Regions from separate parts of the Homo sapiens genome. Here region 2 is linked to region 1. Evidence: promoter capture Hi-C in 16 types of primary human blood cells and fetal thymus (Javierre and others, 2016). All regions are on one chromosome and are shown on one strand. The core of a region is centred on a gene start or on the middle of the fragment in contact, and the rest is flanking DNA. Distances in the headings are between cores, read along the strand shown.

Evidence for each region. The method cuts DNA at HindIII sites, captures the fragments that hold promoters and counts their contacts. A CHiCAGO score of 5 or more calls a contact.
Region 2: a fragment that was not itself captured here is called in contact with the fragment with the promoter of LCMT1 in region 1 in 1 of 17 cell types (naive CD8 T cells); the score reaches 6.0 in naive CD8 T cells.

The regions. Positions count from the first base shown.
Region 1 is chr16:25,109,117-25,116,532 of GRCh38, reverse strand. LCMT1 (leucine carboxyl methyltransferase 1) reads right to left here and starts at 4,791. Exons shown (of 11, transcript NM_016309.3): 1 at 4,537-4,791. The coding sequence starts at 4,649. LCMT1-AS1 (LCMT1 antisense RNA 1) reads left to right here and starts at 4,978. Exons shown (of 3, transcript NR_120306.1): 1 at 4,978-5,137. RefSeq lists enhancers at 4,484-4,643, 4,734-5,063, 4,841-5,368. The HindIII fragment of the contact is 2,890 bases long and covers 3,974-6,863 here.
Region 2 is chr16:23,555,968-23,563,383 of GRCh38, reverse strand. UBFD1 (ubiquitin family domain containing 1) reads right to left here and starts at 5,657. Exons shown (of 7, transcript NM_019116.3): 1 at 5,617-5,657; 2 at 5,105-5,434; 3 at 3,708-3,916; 4 at 1,113-1,178; 5 at 654-759. The coding sequence starts at 5,641. EARS2 (glutamyl-tRNA synthetase 2, mitochondrial) reads left to right here and starts at 6,034. Exons shown (of 9, transcript NM_001083614.2): 1 at 6,034-6,179. The coding sequence starts at 6,041. RefSeq lists silencers at 5,235-5,414, 5,515-5,604 and enhancers at 4,772-5,415, 5,675-5,874, 5,416-6,060, 6,065-6,344, 6,705-7,349. The HindIII fragment of the contact is 3,053 bases long and covers 1,288-4,340 here.

The DNA of each region.
Region 1 (7,416 bases), core at 3,542-6,041:
TTGTTGGAAGCTGGCTGGCACCCATAGGAAGGCCATGTTGTTCTCCTGTTGGACATAAACAATCGCGCAGACCACCCACACAAGGGCACTCTGCACCACTGATGACAGGAGATGAAACGAGACCACCTCATCATTTTGTCTAAGCAGAGAAAAAAGCAAGGTCACTGTGCCACCCACGGAATACCAGACATCTCTTTCTCCCAGCTGATAGAAGTGACTGTGGCTTCTTTACATGTTACAGCTTTAGCCTTACTCCAGCCAAATCTCCTTCTAGAAAAGACAGAGCTACTGGATAGAATTTTCCCACCTGCTTTCAGTACTCAACACAGAGAAAATCCCTTGACCCTCCCCCAAATCACCCAGCCAAAGCCCATATCCTAAAGGTCTAACACTCTCTTACTGATGTGCCCCACAGCTCCTCATAGTGTGAGTCTTCCCTCCTTGCAACAAGTAATAAACCCAGCTTGTTTAACTACAGGTGTGTTTCTGGTGGTCTTTATTGGAGGAATTCACAACTGTAAAAGTGAAAAAGGATGATTACATTTCTTGGGGGAAGGCTGGGCGTGGTGGCTCATGCCTGTAATCCCAGCACTTTGAGGGGCTGAGGCAGGTGGATCACCTGAGGTCAGGCATTCGAGACCAGCCTGACCAACATGGTGAAACCCCTTCTCTACTAAAAATACAAAAATTAGCCGGGTGTGGTGGCAGGCACCTGTAGTCCCAGCTACTCGGGAGGCTGAAGTGGGAGAATTGCTTGAACCCGGGAGGGAGAGGTTGCAGTGAACCAACATCGCGCCACTGCACTCCAGCCTGGGCAACAACAGCCAAACTCCCTCTCAAAACAAAACAAACAAAGTTTCTGGGGGAGGTTAAGGGAGTTTCATTCTAAGGGTTCCCATTTTCCATGTTGAGCAATAGCTGATATTATCTTGAGAATGAAAAAGGAGTGGGGTAAATCAGAAGTCTGAAGAAAGGGGAAAATGTCTGAATTAAGTATCCGGAGAAAGGGAGAGTGAGTTGATCTGAGAAACAAACTAGGATAGTCAGGTTCTGTTAAGGGCACAGTTGAGGTTGGCTGACATGATCGTAGCGGCACCAAGCCACCCTACTGTGTGATTTCTAGCACCTGTATTCAAGGCAAAAATGGATAGTTTGGTTAAACCAGCATTTTGGGTCTACTAAGACCAAAGGGCAAGGAAGATAAATGCACTGTCAACAGAATTACCGAGGGATGAAGGATGAACTCTAAGTAATCAATTAAGAGGTAACAGCAGAGGGAACATCTAAAAGACAGAGAGAACCACTGAGGTGCTAAGAAGAAATGGGCACAGCATGGGAAATAGAAAATAACTGGTCAAGCAACTTGGAAAAAAGGGGTCAGAGCTGGAGAGTGTTGCACTCTCATCTGTGAGGCAGTGCAGCATCAGGATAAAAGCACAGGGTGTCACGGTGGGAATGGGTGACAGAATCAGATAGGAAGAGGTGATCACTGCAGACCAGGTGTTCAAGAAAGTGAGTGCCTCGTGCATAGGCTCCATGTGGATGCTGAGGTCACCTAAGGTGAAGTCATGAACTGAGGTAGAGGACACTCTGGGCCAGGCACCCCAGTCTTCCATGAATGAGGTGAATGATCAGGAGAGCTGAACAACAGCAATCAGGAGGGCTCCAGTTGGGCAGGAAGGCTCTCCATGGAATGAGACGCGGGAGACACACAGGAGGACACAAAGCTCAAATCCCTGATCCTGAGATACACAGGGCATGAGAAGGAGGAGGAGCCACGGGAGAGGGCTTCAAGAACAGGATATCCCTGAGGAAAGGTCAGGGTGAAGGCAAAGGGAGGGAGGGAATGGCTAAGGAGAGGCTAACAAAATAGAAGCTGATGTTGATTATCAGGTGGTAACTGCAGAGGACATAGTGAGGGGTTGGTGGGATGGTTGGGTCACAGGTAAACAAAAGAGGGGAGAACAGACTCAGTGGCATAGCATGATGGACATCATAAGGAGAGCAGAGAAGGGAAGGAGAGTGGGCTACCATGAAAAGTGCTCAATTGATACCTATTGAGTCAAATGGAGTTAGTGTAAACCTAATATATCCAACCAGAAAACTTCTGATACCACAAGTCCAGGATCACAATGATGATAATGATTTGATGACAATGAGGGGGGTGGTGATGACTGTTAACTACCAATTCTGAACACCTCCAGTATGCCAAGCACTGCTGCAAGCACTCCACATTTCACCTGCACAGCAATCCTCTGAGACAGATAACATCCTACTTATCCGCAGAAGGACTCTATACCAAAGGAAGAAGCAAACTAAACAGAAGTAAAAGATTTACAGGTACCCAGAAGGCTGACTGGCTTTTTATTTTATAGCCATAACTCACTCAGGGCAGCAGGAACCACCCTAACTCATAGCTACTGCACATTCAGCAACTTTAACTAAACAATATTCAGCCTGGAGGGAAGTCAAAACTAGCAATAATAATTTACTGAGGGCTTCACTTTGTGTCAGATCCTCTGCATCGATAATCTCATTTAATCCTGACACCCATAAAGGTTACCTTTATTATCACTGTTTTAAAAATGAAAAGACTAGGCTGGGTGGGGTGGCTCATGCCTGTAATCCCAGCACTTTGGGAGACCAAGGCGAGCGGATCACTTGAGTTCAGGAGTTCGAAACTAGCCTGGCCAACGTGGTGAAGCCCTGTCTCCACTAAAAATGCAAAAATTAGCTGGGCATGGTGGTGTGTGCCTGTGATCCCAGCTACTTGGAAGGTTGAGGCAGGAGAATCACTTGAACCCGGCAGGTGGAAGTTACCAGGAGCCAAGACAGCTGTGGCCAATAGCAACTGAAAGCCACAGAAGAAAAAGCTGAGTATAATCCACTCAAATTCACAAATTTCATAAGGGACTCTCTCTAAGACTTTAATACTTGTGTATTTATTAATTTAATCAATCACCACTTACATGGACTACATGCCAGACACTGCTCCAAGTGCTCTACTAATATTAAATATCATTTTTGTCCACACCCACCTATGATGCGTTATTATACTCCCCATTTTACAGATCAGGAAACTGAGCCACAGAAAAGTTTAGTAATTTCCCCGACTTTATACTGCCAGTAAGTGGCAACGCTCAGTTTGACAGAGTCTAGCTCCAGAATCCATGCTCTGAAAGTTTAGTCCCCAAGAACCTATAAAAAGTGCAAGGTTTAATCCAACACACTGGTTTTCCCCACTCTACAATCACTACGTGGCCTCAGCCTCCTTCTCCCACCTTTAAAGCATTTTTTGAGTTCCTCTAACAGTTCACACTCCTCTGAACACTCTCCTACAACTTTCCTATTTTTCAAGCCTTTTCTTCTCACTTTTTTTTTTTTTTTTTTTTGAGACATAGTCTCGCACTCTCATCCAGGTTGGAGTGCAATAGCGTGATCTTGGCTCACTGCAACCTCTGCCTCCCGGGTTCAAATGATTCTCCGGCCTCAGCCTCCCGAGTAGCTGGGATTACAGGCGCCCGCCACCACACCCAGCTAATATTTGTATTTTTAGTAGAGATGGGGTTTCACCATGTTGGCCAGGATGGTCTCGAACTCCTGACCTCGTGATCTGCCCACCTCGGCCTCCCAAAGTGCTGGGATTACAGGCGTGAACCACCGCGCCCAAACTCTTCTCACCTTAAACATCACTGACAAAATTACAAACTCTAATGGCACTGCCGTATTTGTCAGCACTCAACACAAAAAAATCATAATTATATATTTCATAGGTAATTATTTGCTTCCTGTCTCTCTTTTCCAACAAAGCTGTGAGTTCCAGTATGTCTGACACCATGTCTGTCTTGTTCTTGGTGTATTTCCACCATCGAATTCCTACTAACCACTGCAAAGTAAAGGCCTGGCACAAAGTAAGGTCTCAAAAAATTTTGTTGAATGAAAGAATAAATGGTGGACATTCAAGCCTCAAGCTTTCTCTTTCTCTGACACGTACCTCTGCTGGCTACGCCCCCATCCCCACCACCACACCCTTAACAGTGGAGACTTAGTGCGGTACTGGCTCTGCAAAGAGATATTACTTGGCTCTGGGTGGGTTATTTCCCCTCGTCATCCTGAGTTTCAGGTGCACAACAGGGATCACACCAACCCCCTAAAGAATGCAACCTACAAAAGAGAGAGAACCTACACCTCTCATCCTCGTAACCCATCGAGGCTGGAGCTACTATTTGCTTCATGTCTGTCTTTCCAGCAGCGTTTAGCTCCAAGAAGCCCAAGGCCTCGTCTGTCTGGCTCAGGGGCCTGCTCCCATCGACGATACCCAGGCTGGCCCCCTGCCTGGCTCACAGCAAAAGCTCAGAAACGATTCGTTAAATAAATGAAGCCCTGCTCCGTGCACTTCACAGGTGGGAAGCGAGGGTCGTGCGAGGCGGGGGCTGCATCCCTGCCAGCCTTGAGCGTATTCTTCAGATGCAGGCCCACCTCCCACCTAGGCCCGCGCCCCAGATGCCGGCCCCGAACCCCGCGCCCGACAGGCACCTCTTGCACAGGGAAGCATCTTCGCAGGTGCCGCGCACGCCCTCGTCGTCTGCGTCGCAGCTCGAGGTGGAACAGCAGGAGGTGATAGAGGATTCCCTCTGCCTAGTGGCCATGGGCGTGGAGGTTCCTGGGAGCTGTGTCCGCCAGGGACATGGAAGCGGGGTCGACGGGCGGCGGGGGACGGCGCGAGCCACAGGGAGAAAGCAACAGAAGAGGGTAGGGCCCTACCTGGCTCAGCTGGCGCGGCTCAGTGACGCCGCCCACGCCGGCTACCCCAGCAACCTCTCCGCTTATTGGCTCCTCTTCCGAGTCGCTCATTGAGCAATTCTCCTGCCCGCTCAGCCTACGAAGTTGCTCATTGGATAATTATTTTGGCACCGCCCACATAACCCGGAAATTTGACGATAGGAAAAAGAAACTAAACAGTAGGAGAGTATCGCAATCCTTTCTGGGAAGCGTAGTCTTAGGTGTCTGGAGAAGTCGCCCGGTTTCTGCTTGCTGGTCGCGAAATTTTATAGCTATAATTAACTCAGGGCGGAACAGCTAGCAGAATCCTCAGCGTTCGGGCAAAGGGCAGAGAATCCAGCCAGAAGCAACATGTGTAAGTTGTTACATTCAGTCCGGGCTCAGTGTCATTCAATTTTACAAAATTTTGTTGTGTGCTGACTCTGCCAGCGACTGTGCTGAGGGCTTTGCCCCCAAAATTGCCTTCGAAATGTAGTGAGGGGGGCGGGCGTAGTGGCTCACTCCTGTAATCCCACCACTGTGGGAAGCCGAGGCGGGCCGATCACCTGAGGTCAGGAGTTCGAGACCAGCCTGGCCAACATGGTGAAACACCGTTGTTACTAAAAGTACAAAAATTAGCCGGGCGTGGTGGCGGCCGCCTTAGTCCTGGCTACTCAGGAGGCTGAGGCAGGAGAATCGCTTGAACCCGGGAGGCGGAGGTTGCAGTAAGCCCATGTGGCGCCACTGCATTCCGTCCTGAGCGACAGAGCGAGACTCCGTCTCAAAAAAATAAATAAACAAATAAATAAAAGAAAGAAAGAAAAGAAATGTAGTGAGGGAAGTAGTGTGTGGAAAAGTAATACAATAGGAAGCCATGTAGCAGCGATCATAAATGAACTAGAGCTACCAGGTAGCAGCATCAATGGCTGAATCTCAGAAACACGATGTTCAGTGAAAGAAGGAAGTCTAACAACACTTTTGTAAAGTTCAAACCAAGTAAAACTAATGTTGTTTAGAGAAACGTACATATATGGTAAAATACTGTACAGAGAAGGCAAGACATGAGAAAAAAAAATAAAAAAGAATCAGGATATTGGTGATCTTTAGGGAGCCGGGAGGGTAGCACACAAGAGGGGGAGGGAGAGGCAGGGAAGGAGCACATAGACACATCCTCAGTTTCTCACGTGGGAGTGGGTTCACGTGTGTCTGTTTCATTATGAGGCATATTCAAGATGTTTTGGATTTATTTTGTACTAAATCTAGTACAAAATATATGTATAAATTCAAGATGTACTGGGGAAGTCGCCTGGTTTCTTGCTGGTGATGAAATTTTATAGCTATAATTAACTCAGGGCAGAACAACTAGCAGAATCCTCAGTGTTCGGGCGATTGGCAGAGAATCCAGCCAGAAGCAACCCTTGTAAGTTGTATATGTATAATAATGTTTAATATACATTATAAATTAAAAATGTCTTTGTATATTCCATTTTGTTATCTGTCAGTTGTTGGAAGCAGGAAACAGATATACTTTAAGAACTTTGAATTGCACTCATTTTTTTAAAAAGAAAATCAACAACAGAAACCCAGAATACACACCTTGGAGTGAGGTCAAATATCAAATGCTAGCTCAGTATTCTAATGGAGGCACAAGATCTCATTGATAGCCACAGTAGAAATGACAAGAGGGGAATGACTAAGGGTGGAGAGCTTTGCCAGGGGGAATGCTGATGGGATGAAATACACCATTTTCTTGGAGTGGTCCTTTGCCAAAAGGGTAATACAAACTATTGCACAAGCATCATCTCCCAGCTTAGCAGTGTCCACATTCCACGGGTGTTAGTGGATAGTAAGTGTTAACAGCAAGTACTATACGGTGTTAATCCCACAGGTCTGGACAGTGAGACTGGGGGTGACTGGAAGAAGGCGGAGGCAGATGGGTTTATACACTTTTGTTGTTGGATGAGCCTTTGATTCAAAATAGCTGGTGATTCAGAGGAATTTGGCCATCTTCCAGCTGACCTCCAGGGCCAGCTCATTCCATGTAAGTTCCTGGTTGAGGATCTGAAAGTTTATGACAGCGTGGAGTCTGGAGATTGCAAGCTTAGCCATCTCAGGCTAAATGATACCTTAATGCAAGAGACAATGCTGGGGTAGTCTTTGAGCCATATCCCAGCCAGAGAAAGTTCACTGCCAACTAGACTGCATCTTTTGACAAAGTCAGGAGAAGAGTTGTGGAAGTGTAAAAGCTCTTGGACATTAATATTGTGGGCCAAAAGTTAGGCATTCACCATGGAATCTCTCCCCAAAAGGCTACAATGGACAATTGTTGCTTTGGCTCTCCAGTATCTCTTTCTTCTATAAAAAATAGCTAGAGTGGGCTGGGCGCGGTGGCTCACACCTGTAATCCCAGCACTTTGGGAGTCCGAGGTGGGTGGATCACCTGAGGTCAAGAGTTTGAGATCAGCCTGGCCAACATGGTGAAACCTCGTCTCTACTAAAAATACAAAAATTAGCCAGGCATGGTGGCAGGCGCCTATAATCTCAGCTACTAGGGAGGTTGAGGCAGGAGAATCACTTGAACCCGGGAGGTGGAGGTTGCAGTGAGCTGAGATCGTGCCATTGAACTCCAGCTTAGGGGACAAGAGCAAAACTCCG
Region 2 (7,416 bases), core at 1,565-4,064, 1.6 Mb after region 1:
AGACACCGTGCACAGGCGGGGGTGGGGCAGGCAGAGGGCAACCAGGCGGGGAGGGAGAGGCAGATTCCTCGGCAGCGGTTAGGAAAACTTCACCTACTATAGGGTCAAACTCTGACCTACAGGGGCCAGGCAGGTGACAAATGAACAAAGCTGGCTACTTCTAAGATAAATGGGACCATGAAGACTGTAGTATGGCCCACTGGAAACCACCACTCGGCTCTAGTGGATCGATGCCATGTGAGAATGCAGGCCCCAAAGGGCCAGATCATTTGAGTTTTCAAGAGAAGCCAAAAAAAAAAAAAAAATCAGATTAGTGAAATCTCCCAATTTTTACAGATTGTGTGTCATCCCACAAAACATTTTTCTGTGGACCAGATTTGGCCCTTGGGCCACGTGTTTGGGACCCCCAAATCTGTGTGCAACTGAAGAGCCACTGTTTGGTGGATCAGCCCTAAGATCAGACTGAAAACAATGAGGGAAAACGGTCCAAACAAAAGGCGAGCATCTAAAAGCAAATTTAAAAGCCAGAAGCAAGCAAAGCACAGTGGAGAGAGAGGTTTCAGAAGGAGGGGTGAAATCGCACTCTAAAATGTGAGTGCTGCTGGGTGCCAGAGGCAGGCAGTGGGCCAGCAAGGAGGCGAGGAAGAACATACCTTTAGTGCCAATCCACAGCTGGTCTTGTTCTAGTTTAAAGGTGAGTCTCACTTTTCCTCCAGATTTATTGTACATGCCGGACAGCGGTACCGTTGGCAGGCGCTCCTGAAGGCACGAGAGAATGGTAAGAGATGGAGGGACAGTCAGAAAAAAAGAGAAGGGGGCCAAGCGCGGTGGCTCACGCCTGTAATCCCAGCACACTGGGAGGCCAAAGCGGTCAGATCACCTGAGGTCAGGAGTTGGAGACTAGCCTGGGCAACATGGTAAAACCCCGTCTCTACTAAAAATACAAAAATTAGCCAGGTGTGGTGGCACACCCCAGCCTGGGTGACAGAGCAAGACTCTGTCTCAAAAAAAAAAAAACAGGGAAAAAAGAGAAGGGACAGGATTGGAGGAACCTCAAGTCAGACGGTGGGGCTGCCTCATTTTCAGAATGCTCACAAAGAAATCCGCCTTACCTGGGCCCCCTTAACAGATGGCATCACATCTTCAGGTTTTCCTTTATCCAACACTTTCCTGTGTTGCTATAAGTCAGAAGAGAGAATGAAATGAAACAGCTGACTACATTTCGTCGTGTTACTATTCCCTTGAAAGAGAGGATGAAGAAAGCCTTAGTGTTTTGGCTCAAAAGCTTTTAATGACGACAGACTATGGATCCTTTGAAACTATAGCACAGTGCTGTCCAGCAGAACTTTCTGGGAGGGCGAATATGTTCGTACCTGTGCTAGCCACTACCTACTGCTGTGACTATTACACACTTGAAATGCAGCTACTATGACTGAGGAACTGAATTCTTAATTTCATTTTAACCAGCCACATGTGGATAGCTACCATATTAGATATCAAAGTTCTACAGCAAACGGGATTTCCAGATTGCCCTCCTCCCCTCAAAAAAAAAAAAAAAAATCACCACTGAAATGATTAAACCATCAAACTAAAGAGGGCGACAAAGGGTGTTGCTCTCCTAGCAGACAAAAAATGGCACCCACCTTTTTCAACTTAAACTTCCAGAGAACACTATAAGATGCTGGTAATCCGTCTAACTGCCTAGGAGGAGCAGTTCTTCAACAAATGGAGACCCAGCCCATCGCCGAAGTTTTCCCCACTGCCCTACCCTTAACTCCAGCTAAACAGGAACCTGGAAGAGCCACCTTTCAGAAAGAAATGCTTATTACTCTATAACCTGACATTAAGAAGCCTCTAAACTCCACCCCTACCACCTGCCCCAAGAACTCTGAGGCAGCTCTTCAAGGATTCTAAGTTCAGGGCCCCTTAAACAGTTCTCCTGCCTGGCCCAAATGCCTGAGTCTTCTTTCTTCTCCATCTGTGGCCTTATAGGCATAGCCACTGCTTGGAAGGCTGGAACTAGGGGACAATGAATGGATAGAAGGTAACAATTTAATCAAATGTAAGCACTAGGCAGCCACAAGCCAGCCCAAATCCTCACTGGCATGGTGGAATCCCTCTGGGAGGAATAAACTCAGCACTGCCAGACTGCTAGCAAAAAGTCACTCCAGACATCACCCCCAGACCCCTTAATAAGCTGGTAAAAAGGCAAGGGACTATATCCCTCTCATTAGGTCATGTGATGCATCATAATTGGCCTCAATGAAACACAGCAGCATGGGCTGGAAGTACAATTCGAGTCACACCTTTCAAGTACCTTTTGAACAAGATTTCCTGTACTGTGGAGAACAGTTCTAAGCCTGTTAAGCTACCATTAGTAACTAAAAACCTGTATTTAGGAGGCATGTTATGCTCCAAGGGTGTGACCATTGCGACCACTCCTATCTGACGTGCTCACATTTCACTATTTCATACATGTGGCAAAGAAAAACAGGAATATGAGAAGAAACTCAATCGGTTTCAAGACACTGAGACCCCATATGTGGGGGTGAAGTCTCCAAATCAACACCTTTTAGATAATTAATATAGGTTTATAACCCCTTATCTGAAACCCTAGAGTTTTGAACTTTCAGGGTTTTGGAATTTTTATAAAGATAATATTGCTTTCAAATACATAACAATCTTCTCTGTGGGGTCTGGGGCAGTACCTTGTCACCAAAGAGGAAAATTCACACTAATTCTGGTCAGGTTTTGCTGTTAAATTTATAAAAACACTTCTCGTTTTTATACTCCTTTGGGGTTTTGGAAGCACACATGGGGGATTATGGATCTGTAACACAAACTGTGTCCTTTTCTTACTGTTGGTCATATATCTTAGTGTCTATGGTCACTAAATGATGTTGATTGAAGTTTATCTACTCTACTTCAGACACAGTTGAGAATACCTGTCTTCCTTGGAACACTAGGAAGAACGATCAGGAGGCTACACAGCAATCAGTATAATTTGCCAGGTAAAAAGATAACAAGTAATGATTCTTACAACCTGTTCCTTCCATAGTAAAATAATCTCACTTTTCCTCGTTACGTGAAAGAATGTTAATGGCTATGATGAGCACAAGACAAGGCAGGATCTCTTGCAGCCAAAAGAACAGAGAACGTAAAAAACCAAGCTCCTATTTCACAGATCAGGACAAAAAAATAAATAAACAAATCCATCAGTGTAGTTGTCTTCCTACTCAGCTTCATTTAGCTTCCTGAAACGGTCAGCTTTAGGGGAACCTCCGAGAGTTGTTGATTTCCATGCCTAGCCAGGCTTGTTGACTTGGGGAAAGCCACAAACCAAAAAGCCAAATGTAAGCACTTGTACAAAATGAGGGCTTACTTCTAGTACTGGTAGTTTTCTCTGGCACTAAATAAGAGAGAGAAACCCACGTCTGATTCCTTTCAACACATGGTCTGAAGCCTCCCTTTACCAAGGTCTTATCCTAAAGTAGGTAGACTTGAGACACACTGACCCGCCAGATGAGACAAAGTTGCAAATCTCAGGTAGTTGTCACCTCCACTCTGCGGCACCCAACTGCTGCCATAAATTTCCATCATGGGCCCTGTCCAAAAAGGAGCTTATTCTAGGGAGAATATAACCAGCCACGGCTCAAGAGGACAAAGCCTCAAATTTCTCAAGACCAAGAAGCACAAGATGGACTCACTTTCTGCCTGCAGAGAGGCTCCTTCTTGTTCTCTTCGGCCTTTGCATCCTGCTGCGCAGCATCTTTGGGTGTGTTTACTGCTAAAACATCATTGATGGTGGAGCCAACCACCATGATCTTGGCCCCACTGGTCACTTTTATTTCTCTCAATGTTTTATCCTCGGGGACGAGTCCCTTATACATGACTTTCTGCATGGCAGGCGGGAGACCTTGGGAAAAGGTAGAAGGTGGACAGTGAAAGGAAGGAAGGACAGAAAAATGTATGGATACTACACAGCTCTTTGGTAACAGACCAAAAAGTGAATACTGCCTCCACCACCTATTAGCTTTGTGAACTTGGGAGATTTACAACCTCTGAACCTCAGTTTCTAGAACTGTAGAAGATTTATTAGAGTAAGTCCTTCTGTACAGACCTGTTTCAAGGATTAAGAGACCAATGCGGGGCATTTAGTACGGTGGCTAGCATTGAATAATTGTTCAGTAAGTACTAGCTCTCATTCTTTCCAAGTTGTTCCTCAGTCATCTAAATCATTCACATATTAAGTGAGAATCCACAGGCATCAGAGCTACAGAAGCCAATAGGGACAAAACTCCTGTTCTTAATGGAGATTACAAGGCTACATGTAGAAAGCTTTAAAAAAAAAAAAAAGTTCAAGGCCAGGAGTGATGGCTTATGCCTGTAATCCCAGCACTTCGGGAGGCCGAGGTGGGTGGATAAAATAAAAAAAACTAGCCCGGCGGGGTAGCGGGCACCTGTAATCCCAGCTACTCGGGAGGCTGAGGCAGGAGAATCGCTTGAACCTGGGAGGCGGAGGCTGCAGTGAGCCAAGATGGTGCCAGTACACTCCAGCCTGGGCAACAGAGCAAGACTCCGTCTCAAAAAAAAAAAAAAATAGGAAAAAGAAAAGAAATCTCAGATGGCAAAGAGCTATGAACAAGGTAAAATTAAGAAACAGAATCGACTGTGAAGAACCAGCATCAAAGTCAATAGCAGCGTTTCCTAAACTTCACTTAGAAGAATTACCTAAGATATTTGCTAAAAATAAATTCCTGGCTACATCCCAGACCCACTGAATCAGAATCTCCTGGGAAAGGGCCCAGAAGCTGTAAAACAAGCGCCTTAGGTGATTTTTTAATTAGAGATGTTAGAGCAACATCAATGAGAAACTGGGGCCTAAACGTCAGACTTCGGCTTTAATCCCAGCTCTGCAACTTACTAGCTCTATAAACTTGAGTCTCTTTCCCCAGCTGAGTAATGGGCATCCAAGTATCCTTCAGAAGACTGCTGTAAGGATGGGGGGACCTGATGCAAGGAAAGCCACCAGGTGCCTAGTAGGGTGCAAGGGCCATCAGGAGGCGGGGTGGGGAAGACTGGCTGTCAGCGCCACAGGAATTACCTGTAATCGAGTGGATCTTCTGTTTCAGCTCGGAGCCTGTGCTGTCCAGGGGGAACTTCACGTCATGCTTGGTCTTATTCCAGATGATCTTCAAGTCCACCAGCTCCCTGCCCGCGCCGCCGCCCGCGTCTTCGCCGTTGCTGACCGAGGCCTGGGCTGCGGGGTCCCCAGGGGGCTGGGCCGGGGCCGGCTGCAGGCTGCCTCGTGCGGCGCCGGAGTCCTCGGCCGCCGCCCCCGCCGCGGCTTCAGCCTCCAGGCAGTTGACGGGCCGCGCGGGAGCCTCAGTAGCCACAGTCTCGGCCTCCGTGTCCATGCCAGGTTCCTCCATGCCTGCAAGGGGGTTAGGGGGTGGGCGCTCGCCGCGGGCTGGGCTTGGGAACGGACGCTGTCCGGGCGCCGCCGGACCTCCGTTCCCGAGCCGCGGTTCTCCCTCCCGGGCCGGGCCGCATCCCCCAGAGGAGCGACCGCAACCTCAGCCCCGGCCCGGCGCCCGCCACCCCCGCCGCACTCACCATCCGGGGCCCCGGCCGCCGCCATGATGATTGTGTACAACACCCACCGCTCCCGCAGAGGCCGCTGGGAAGAGGCGAGCTGGCTGAGATTGGCCCCCGCAGCAGCCCCTAATCTCTCACAGCCCGGCCGGAAACAGGTGGAGGTTTCTATGGAGACCCGCCTCCTCCGCTCCCAGGTCCGGCCCCTGCCACGCTTTCGCTTTCCCAAGCTGAAGGGGGCGGGTCCGGGAAATAGCCCTTTCTCTGGCCTCTGCCCCCTGGTGGCGAGTGCGGCCGCAGCCGTCCAGGGGGGCGTGGGATTTCGCGCTAGGGGGCCTGTGACTTTAAGGGGCAAGGCTGCGCTGGCTGTGGCGGAGGCCGATTGGCTGGAAGCAGTCCCCGGAAGTGACGCAGGGAGAAGCCCACGTGTGCTATTCCATCCCACATGGCGGCGCTCCTGAGGAGACTGCTGCAGCGCGAGAGGCCTTCGGCGGCCTCTGGCCGCCCCGTAGGACGGCGCGAGGCCAACCTGGGCACTGATGCCGGGGTTGCGGTGCGAGTGCGGTTCGCTCCCAGCCCCACAGGTAACCCTGGCGGACGTGACGCTACAGGCCGAGGCCCCCTGTCCCGTCTCCGCCCCACGAATGTTCCCGAATGAATCCTTTCCGGTGGTGTCAGAGTGGGCGGGCGGAGGAGGGTTAAGGCAGCGCGAGCCCATTTTACAGAGGCGGAAACTGAGGTGCAGGAGCGGAAATAATTCAAATTGCCAGGAGTTTCTTGTGTTTTTTGTGCCATCCCATCTCTTTCGATCTTTTTTTCATGCATTCCATACATGTGCATTGATGACAACCTGTGTAACAGGTGTTGTAGACGCTGGGATACAGTGATCATTGAGAAAGGTAGGGGCCTTGCTCTGTGGAAGTCTGCATTCTAGTGGCTGCCGCAGACACTTATAAAAAATAAGTGTAATTTTAGAGTCACATGTGCCATGCGGGAAGTGAAACAGGATAGGAGACTGGGGATTAAGAAGGACGCTCCAGAAGGCTTTACTGAGCAGGTAACATTTGAGCTGAGATCCAAATGACAAGAAGGAGCACGCTATGTGAAGCCTATAGAAGGAACCTTCTGGAGGCCAGGCGCGGTGGCTCACGCTTGTAATCCCAGCACTTTGGGAGGCAGAGGTGGGTGCATCACTTGAGGTCAAGTGGATCACTTGAGAGCCGTCTGACCAACATGGTGAAGCCCTGTCTCTACTAAAAATACAAAATTATCTGGGCATGGTGGCGCATGCCTGTAATCCCAGCTACTTGGGAGGCTGAGGCAGGAGAATCGCTTGAACGCAGGAGGTGGAGATTGCGGTGAGCCAAGATCGCGCCATTGCACTCCAGCCTGGGCAACAAGAGCGAAACTGTGTCTCAAAAACAAAAAAGAAGGAACCTTCTGGGTAGAGGAAATCGCAGGTACCAAGGCACTGTGCTAGTGCTGTTGGGAGCTTAGCAAGCTAGAGGGTGACAGAGGCCCATTGTATAGCCTGTTGGAGATCTCGTCAGGGCCTTTTGGTTCCCACCAGTAAGGCTACCTTCTACGTTCTCTACACGGAGTATGCCTCTCATCCCAAATCCCAGGATGAACATACAAAGATCTTTGTAGTAAAATCCCAGCTATACATGACAGGATCTTTCTGGCAGGCAGTATAGCCTAGAGCAGTGCCTTTCAAACCATCTGTTGTGGAAGTGCTGGTTTTAAATTTCCAATCAATTGTGTATCAATATTTGCACAAAATTAATATAATGACCAGAAAAATAAAATTTTGAAAACATC